Linked DNA regions of Homo sapiens: regions 1 and 2 are each linked to region 3. Evidence: promoter capture Hi-C in human tissues and cell types (Jung and others, 2019). All regions are on one chromosome and are shown on one strand. Each heading gives the region's core, a stretch centred on a gene start or on the middle of the fragment in contact. The rest is flanking DNA. Distances are from core to core; before and after follow the strand shown. Region 1 overlaps SEPTIN11 (septin 11). Region 2 overlaps LOC124900719 (a long non-coding RNA gene). Region 3 holds the start of SOWAHB (sosondowah ankyrin repeat domain family member B).

Region 1 (2,922 bases), core at 405-2,904, 69 kb before region 3:
CTCTGGCGTAACAGTGTTTGAGTAGAATAAATTGAGAGGGGTGGAGTGTTCAATGACCATGTAAAATGCCACGGATTTCTTTAAGAATAGGAAGATACATCAATACTCCTTATTACCATTTTGCTCAAGCTACCATCTTGAATCACATGAAGCTACTATTTTTGTAGTTGAGAAATGGCTGGATATCAACTTTCATGTGGTTCAACCCACTACTAGGACATTCTGTAAAATCAAGAGCAATTTTGCCACATCTTTTTCTTTTACTGTTAATGATCTCACTGGCTTTTTGCTTCTTAAAAAGGTTATGAAAGAGTAGGCTTCGGAAAAGAAGAGTCTCAAAACTCATAACAAAAACAACAGAAATTTTATCAATAAAAATGTTCCAATAATTAGAAAGACAGCCTAAATCAACCTTTTAGAAAGATGTTTTCTAAATAGTCTGCTTACAAAACATCTGCCTTTTTTGTTTTTCTGAGACTCTAATTGTCACTAATAGTTCGTAGAAGATGCATTTTTGTATAGGCAGGAAGACCGAAAAGAAGGGAGGATGCTGGGTTTCAGCTGTAGAGGGAAGGATTAACAGGAAATTTAAGCCTCAACTTAAGTCCTTAGGCCTCAATAAGGATTAATGGGAAATTTAAGCCTCAATTCCCCAGGCCTCAGTTTCCTCATCTTAAAGGAAGGTCCTTTATAAGGTGACCTTTGAAGGCCCTTCTGGCTCTAGCACTAATAATTTGTTGAAATTTGGTAACAAATTTTATTCTACCTATATCAACTTGCATTTTATATCGTCCCACTGCCGAATTCATAAATAATTTCATGGCCTATAGGAACAGCCATTAACTGTCATTGGAACTCAACCAAAAATAGAAAATCCAACCCCATTCACTATATATAGCATATGTTTTTGCGGAGCCACATTTGCTTGGCTACCACACACTCTAGAATTCCTCCCACTCCCTCAGCTGTGGGCCTGCTCACACCATACATCAACTTTTGGTTCTCCAAATTTGCTCTCTTATGGCCGGGCCTGTATTGGAGAAATCCTGTTACAGAAACAATTCAAAAATGTTGATGTTGTCCTCAACCAATCTATATGTTTTAATATCAGAGTTCAAGCACTTGCTTCACTTGTATTTTAAAAGCAGCCACATTTTCTGCACACACAAAAAGCTTAAATTGTTCAAATGTTAAATCATTCTAAAAGGCATACCAAAAAAAAAAAAACTATTAATGGTTCCTTTATTCAAATACAAGAAAAACAAATAAATTTATTTCCAATGGAAATCAGATTGCAAATTGGCAGACTCAACCAGCAAATGTGTTTATGTGACCCACACAGTATTTTTAAAACATTTAGTTGCCAACATTGTCAGATGTGGAAATTTCACATCAAATTCCAAATGTCCATCTCTTCTTTTGAAAAACTGAAGACTATGGCACCATCAGGCCCCCATTTCCTAGTCAGAGCCAAGAGGTGGCATGTGTTTTTCCAGCAGTTTAACTGAAGAATGTGGGTTGCCTTTTTGGTACTTTTTCTCCCTCAAATAAATAAGCTAAATAATGAAGCTCATTCATAGATGGCTTACACATTTGCCTCCCTTACTATCATCTTACCATGCCATCAATAATTCAACACGGAACCTAATTGAAGCTTAACCAAAACTGTGTATAAACCATTGGCCATTAACTAAAGAGAAAGTTAGATAAATTTCTATTTCTTATTAATGTTATAGCTACATCAGGTTAAGCACTTTTTCTTTTCTTTTTTGTGATGGAGTCTCACTCTGTCACCCAGGCTGCAGTAAAGGGGCATGATCTTGGCTCACTGAAACCTCTGCCTCCTGGACTCAAGCAATTCTCGTGCCTCAGCCTCCCAAGTAGCTGGGATTACAGGTGTGAGCCACCACACCTGGCTAATTTTTGTATTTTTAGTAGAGACACGGTTTTGCCATGTTGGCCAGGCTGGTCTCAAAATCCCGACCTCAAGTGATCTGCCCACCTCGGCCTCCCAAAGTGCTGGGATTACAGGCCAGGTTAAGCACTTTTCTAACTACAATAAAGCATAAGCATTAACTGAGATCTAGACTACTTAATATTTTTTGAGACAGGGGCTCCCTCTGTCTCCCAGGCTGGAGTACAGTGGCACAATCTCGGCTCACTGCAGCCTGAAACTCCCAGACTCAAGCGATCCTCCCACCTCAGCCACCGGAGTAGCTGGGACAACAGGTGAGCGCCACCACCTCCCAGCTAATTCTTGTATTTTTTCTGAGAAATGGGGTTTCACCATGTTGCCGGGGCTGGTCTCAACCTCCTGGGCTCAAGTGATCTATCTTCCTCGGCCTCCCAAAGTGCTGGGAATTACAGGTGTGAGCCACCATGCCTGGCTGATTACATAAATTTTTAATTTTTTTCAAGATGTATTATTGTTAGATTTAAATTTGGTCTATTAGAAAATCACTGGAAAATCTCCAAACTTTATACATTAAAAAAAAAAAAAGTCAGCTATACTCATCTTGTGGCTTCTTTGCTGAAAATAGTTGCTATATTTGCCTAATCAGGTCATAGTCATTTTACAAGCCTTAACAGTTTCCTGTCTCTATCCTGCATAAAAAGCACAGGATAACTAATTTGACCAAATATCTTCCTAAATCTTCTTCTTAGCCCTACTGTGGATTCAACTGTCTCTTGTCAAGTGGAGATAAAACTCATTTCATGAGAGAATTCTTTGCAAAACTAGCATAAATCTTGAGTTGTGGTAACATTAAAATGTAGGGCGCCATCCAACTACTTACTCTCTCCACTCACCATGGAATAAAGCAAACTGGACTAAACTGCAACACAGATGATGAGATGAAACACAGACTTTCCTTCTCTCCCAGGAACATAGTTAACAAAGCCTAAGGGAACACAAAGGGCAGA
Region 2 (2,729 bases), core at 44-2,543, 82 kb after region 3:
AAAGGTAGAAAAAACTAGCTGACTGTGGTGGCATGTGTCTGTAGTCCTAGCTACTCGGGAGGTCAAGATGTGAGGATAACTTGAGCCTGAGAGATGGAGTCTGCAGTGAACTGTGATCATGTCACTGCATTACATCCTGGGAGACAGAGTGAGACCTTGTCTCAAAAACAAAACAAAACAAAAATGGAGAGATGATCCAAATAAATGAAATCAGAGATATTAAAAGGAGACATTACAACCAGTACTGCAGAAATTCAAAAGATCATTAGAGGCTACTATGAGCAACTCTATGCCAACAAACTGGAAAACACAGAATAAATGAATAAATTCCTAGACATATATAACCTACCAAGACTGAACAATGAAGAAACCCAAAACCTGAACAGACCCATAACAAGTAACAAGATTGAAGTTGTATTAAAAAGTCTCCTAGCAAAGACCAGGACCCAATGGCTTCACTGCTGAATTTTACCAAACATTTAAAGAACTTATATCAACTCTACTCAAACTATTCCAAAAAATAGAAGAGGAGTACTTCCAAACTCATTCTGTGAGGCCAGTAGTATCCTGATACCAAAACTAGACAAGGACAATCAAAAAAAGAAAACTATAGGCCAATATCCCTGATGAACATTGATGTAAAAATCCTCAACAAAATACTAGCAAACTAAATTCAACAAAACATTAAAAAGATCTTCATTATGACCAAGGGGGATTTATCCCAGGGATGCAAAGATGGTACAACATAGGCAAATCAATCAATGTGATACCTCATATCAACAGAATGAAGAATAAAAACCATATGATTGTTTCAATTGATGCTGAAAAAGCATTTAATAAAATTCAATATCCCTTCATGATAAAAAAAAAAAACCTAAAGAAACTAGATATAATAGGAACATACCTCAACACAACAAAAGCCATATATGACAGACCCACAACTAGTATCACACTGAGTAGGAAAAAACTGAAAGCCTTTCCTCTAAAATCTGGAACAAGACAAGGATGCCCACTTTATTTATTTAATTTTTTAAAAATTTTTGTTTTACTTTAAGTTCCGGGATACACATGCAGAATGTGCAGGTTGTATAGGTATATGTGTGCCACGGTGGTTTGCTGCACCTATCAACCCACCATCTAGGTTTTCAGCCCCGCATGCATTAGCTATTTGTCCTGGTGCTCTCCTTCCCTGCACCGCACCCCCTGGACTGGCCCAGTGTGTGTTATTCCCCTCCTAGTGTCCATGTGTTCTCATTGTTCAACTCCACTTATGAATGAAAGCATGTGGTGTTTGCTTTTCTGTTCCTGTGTTAGTTTGCTGAGAATGATGGCTTCCAGCTTCATCCATATCTCTACCAAGGACATGATCTCATTCCTTTTTATGGTCGCATAATATTCCATGGTGTATATATAATACATTTTCTTTATCCAGTCTATCATTGATGGAAGGATGCCCACTTTCACCACTGTTATTCAACATAGTACTGGAAATCCTAGCTAGCGCAATCACACAAGGGAAAGAAATAAAGGACCTCCAAATTGGAAAGGAAGACATTAAATTATCCTTGTTTAAAGATGATATTATACTTGGAAAACCCTAAAGACTCTACTAAAAAACTATTAGAACTGATAAAAAAATTCAGTCTAGTTGCAGGATACAAAATACAAAAGTCAGTGGTATTTCTATATGCCAACAGCAAATAATTTAAAAAAGAAATCAAGAAGGTAATCTCATTTATAATAGCTACAAACAAAATACCTAGGAATAAACTTAACCAAAAAAGTGAAAGATCTCTACAATGAAAACTACAAAAGATTAATGAAAGAAATTGAAGAAGACACAGAAAAATTGAAAGATATTCTATGTTCATGGATTGGAAGAATCAATATTGTTAAAATGTTCATACCACCCAAAGCAATTTACAGATTCAATGCAATCCTTATCAAAATACCAATGTCATTCTTCACAGAAATAGAAAAAATAATCTTAAAATTTCTATGAAACCACAGAATACCCAAAAGAGCCAAACCATCCTGAGCAAAAAGAATGAAAGTGGAAGAATTTCATTACCTGACTTCAAATTATACTACAGAGCTATTGTAACCAAAACAGCATGGTATTGGCGTAAAAACAGACACATATACCAGTGGAACGGAACAGATAACCTAGAAATAAATCCATACATCTATGGTGAACTCAATTTTGACAATGGTGCCAAGAACATACACTGGGGAGAAAATAGTCTCTTCAATAAATGGTGCTGGGGAAAGTGGATATTCATATGCAGAAGAATGAAACTAGACCCCTATCTCTCACCATATACAAAAATCAAATAAAAATGGATTAAAGACTTAAATCTAATACCTGAATCTATGAAACTACTAAAAGAAAACATTGGGGAAACTCTCCAGGAAATTGGTCTGAGCGAAGATATCTTGAGTAATAAAAAGCACAGGCCACCAAGGCAAAAATGGACAAATGGGAATATATCGAGTTAAAAAGCTTCTGCACAGCAAAGGAAATAATAAACAAAGTGAAGAGACAATCCACACAATAGGAGAAAATATTTGCAAACTATCCCTCTGACAAGGACTTATTAACCAGACTATATATGAAACTCAAACAGCTCTATAGGAAAAAAAACTAATAATCTAATTTTTAAAATGGACAAAAGATGTGAATAGATATTTCTCAAAAGAAGACATACAAATGACAAACAGGTATATGA
Region 3 (2,720 bases), core at 183-2,682:
GTATTTTTGGGGATTTAAAATCAAGCTCAGTTAATGTGGTCTATAGGGCAGTCACTAAGATTGGTCCATGCTAAAACATGTCTTTGTCAACAATTGTAGGGCCAACACACATACTTTCAATACTCTTTCTTGGCGAGAAGTATAGGAACTATGAGTAATCAGAAATAGAAGAGCAAAAGGAAAAGTGAAAAGATGAGAAGAGTCCATGAGAAAAGAGAGGCAAATTACAGGGAAGGAGAAAATCGAGGTTTTTGAATGGGAAATACAGTGGACATGAGAGGATCTGAGAAACAGACATATTTCCTGTCAGTAGAGGCCGAAGGTAAACAAGGATGTCGTGTAACAGAAAGAAATGGGAAGGCCAAGTTAAAGAAAAGAATGAGAGAAGGCTTGGAACTAAAACAGGTAAAGAGATAATGACAGTGAAAACTATCTCAGGCATGTCAACAGGACTGATAAGGAACAGTGAGGGACATCCAGGATCTCACATCAAAGACAGAAGGGTCAACATGTGGAGAGAGAAAAAGGAAGAGGGATCCCAGCTGTTAGGGGGAAAAGGTGCTGTTAAAGACAGCTCTAGTCTGCATTTTGAACCTTACATTCTGAAAGGAAGCACTTCACCAAGCCAATACAAAACACTGTACAAATCTCTGCTGTTCACAAATTTTAGAGTAAATAAAAGCAAACTAATGCTACACATCAAATACCTTAACTGGCGAGACATAATTCCTAGTTCATTTTAGCCGCCGGGGGCAAGAAGCTATCAAAGTGATTTTTTTTTTCCAGCACCTTAATGTGAGACAAGTATGAAGGAAAGACAAGTATGAAAGAAAAAGTCCCAAACCAATATTGCCCAGTAGTAATTTTCAGAGTGATTTCTCTTTTCAGTATAGACTTGGATGTATTCGGACCCCTTGGAGGGGGCGCCGGAGAAGCGGCCCAGAAAGTATTTCTATATTAAGAAAAATTTAGTTTGGATGCAAAGTGAGTTTTGCGGACCTCAATACAGCCTCGAGAAATCTGAAGTACTCCTCTACAGCGTTAATAAAGAAAGATAACTCAGATTGCCTGTTAACTTGCAGCTTCTCCTCCTCCCCCATCGGCTTCAGCCTGAACTCATCAAAGCACCGGAGGACAGGAACGGACCTTCTATCGCTTTTGTTTCCTGCGTGGCGGAGACTTAGAGGAACGGCCGGTCGCCTACCTGCCTTCCACTTCCCCGGCCGCAGAGCAGTTCGCTGCCGGCTCGGTTCGCCGCCAACCTCACCTACCGGCTGGCTCTCCGGCCTGACTCTTCTGGGATGGGTGGCAGGGGGTGGGGGAGACCTCAGGGGGCGGAGGGACACGAGGAGGCGGGCCTGACCCTTCCCCCAGAGGCAGGGAGGAGGTGCCGCCAGGGCGCAGGTGAAACCGACTCGGCCCTATCCCGGGAACTTTCGCTGTGAGGACTCGTTGCGAGAGGCTAGAGTCGCGCAGGGGCGGCCTCGGAGCCGCCCTCTCTCACGCAGACTGCCGCGGGGACTCAGCCTTGGGGCCACCCGGAGGGGACCCACGGCCCTCCTGGCGCGCTCACGGGCTGCGGGCAGCGCTGGCCTCCGCGGCTGATGGGGGCGGCTAGTGCCGCCCCGGGCGCAGGTGACACTCGCCCGGCCAGGGTTTCCTCTGGCTGGGGAGAGCCCCGGGAGGGCGAGACTCAGACACCTCTGGGGCGGAGGACAAGGCAGCGATGGCCCGAGAGCTGAGCCAGGAGGCACTACTGGACTTTCTGTGCCAGGCTGGGGGCCGCGTGACCAACGCTGCCTTGCTGAGCCACTTCAAGAGCTTTCTCCGAGACCCCGACGCGTCCCCCAGCCAGCACCAGCACCGCCGCGAGCTCTTCAAGGGCTTCGTCAACTCGGTCGCCGCAGTGCGCCAGGACCCCGACGGCACCAAGTACGTGGTGCTCAAGAGGAGATACAGGGACCTTTTGGGGGAGGAGGGGCTGCAGCGACCCCGCGAGCCGCCCGCGGCCGCCCCCAGTGCAGGGGGAGCTGCGCCCTGCTCCCCGCGAGGCGCGCGCCGGGGGGAGCCGCCCCAGCAGCAGCCCAGGCGGCGGCGGCGCGAGAAGGAGCCGGAGGAGGAGCCAGCAGGTGCAGCAGCCAGAGCCGCCGACGCAGCTTGCAATGGACTCCCGGGCAGCGACTCCCGTAGGGCGCCCGGGAAGGGCGGCGGATCGAAGGGCAGTCCCGGACAGAGGCCGCCGGTGCCCGCAGCTGCAGCGGCAGGGGCCCAGGCGAGAGCGAGCTGCGCGGCGGCGAAGACGCAGGGCCGCTGCTGCTGGGAATGCCTCCAGAACAACCTGGCTGTACTGCCGGGAGAGCTCGGCGCACTCCCGCACTCGGCCACCGCGGAGGAGAAGCCGGCACGGGCTCTGCCTGCCCAGGATGACCGCGGGGCTTCCAGGGAGCGGGAAGAAGGCGCGCTAGCTGAGCCGGCGCCTGTGCCTGCAGTGGCTCACTCGCCTCCCGCCACCGTCGAGGCTGCGACAAGCAGGGCTTCCCCGCCTGCTCTCCTGCCCGGCCCCGCTCCCCGCGGAGACCGGCCGGAGCTGCTGACCCCCAGCTCCCTGCATTATTCGACCCTGCAGCAGCAGCAGCAGCGCACTCGAGAGTGGGTGGCCAGGCACCCGCAGGTGCCCGAGGCCCGTGATCAGGGCCCTATCCGCGCCTGGTCGGTGCTGC

The links. Contacts are between HindIII fragments. The study calls those that stand out against the background at their distance.
Region 1: a fragment that was not itself captured here is called in contact with the fragment with the promoter of SOWAHB in region 3 in 4 of the 25 tissues and cell types used here (IMR-90 fibroblasts, liver, mesendoderm cells and 1 more).
Region 2: a fragment that was not itself captured here is called in contact with the fragment with the promoter of SOWAHB in region 3 in 3 of the 25 tissues and cell types used here (dorsolateral prefrontal cortex, mesendoderm cells and spleen).

The regions. Positions count from the first base shown.
Region 1 is chr4:76,966,046-76,968,967 of GRCh38, reverse strand. All of the region lies in intron 1 of SEPTIN11 (septin 11), which reads right to left. Among named protein-coding and RNA genes, the nearest start is that of SEPTIN11, 18 kb to the right of the region's middle. The HindIII fragment of the contact is 3,733 bases long and covers 1-2,922 here.
Region 2 is chr4:76,814,873-76,817,601 of GRCh38, reverse strand. The region is part of intron 1 of LOC124900719 (a long non-coding RNA gene); the gene reads left to right. Among named protein-coding and RNA genes, the nearest start is that of SHROOM3-AS1, 14 kb to the right of the region's middle. The HindIII fragment of the contact is 6,102 bases long and covers 1-2,729 here.
Region 3 is chr4:76,896,856-76,899,575 of GRCh38, reverse strand. SOWAHB (sosondowah ankyrin repeat domain family member B) reads left to right here and starts at 1,432. Exons shown (of 1, transcript NM_001029870.3): 1 at 1,432-2,720. The coding sequence starts at 1,727. RefSeq lists silencers at 1,272-1,341, 1,412-1,711, 1,972-2,081. The HindIII fragment of the contact is 8,540 bases long and covers 1-2,720 here.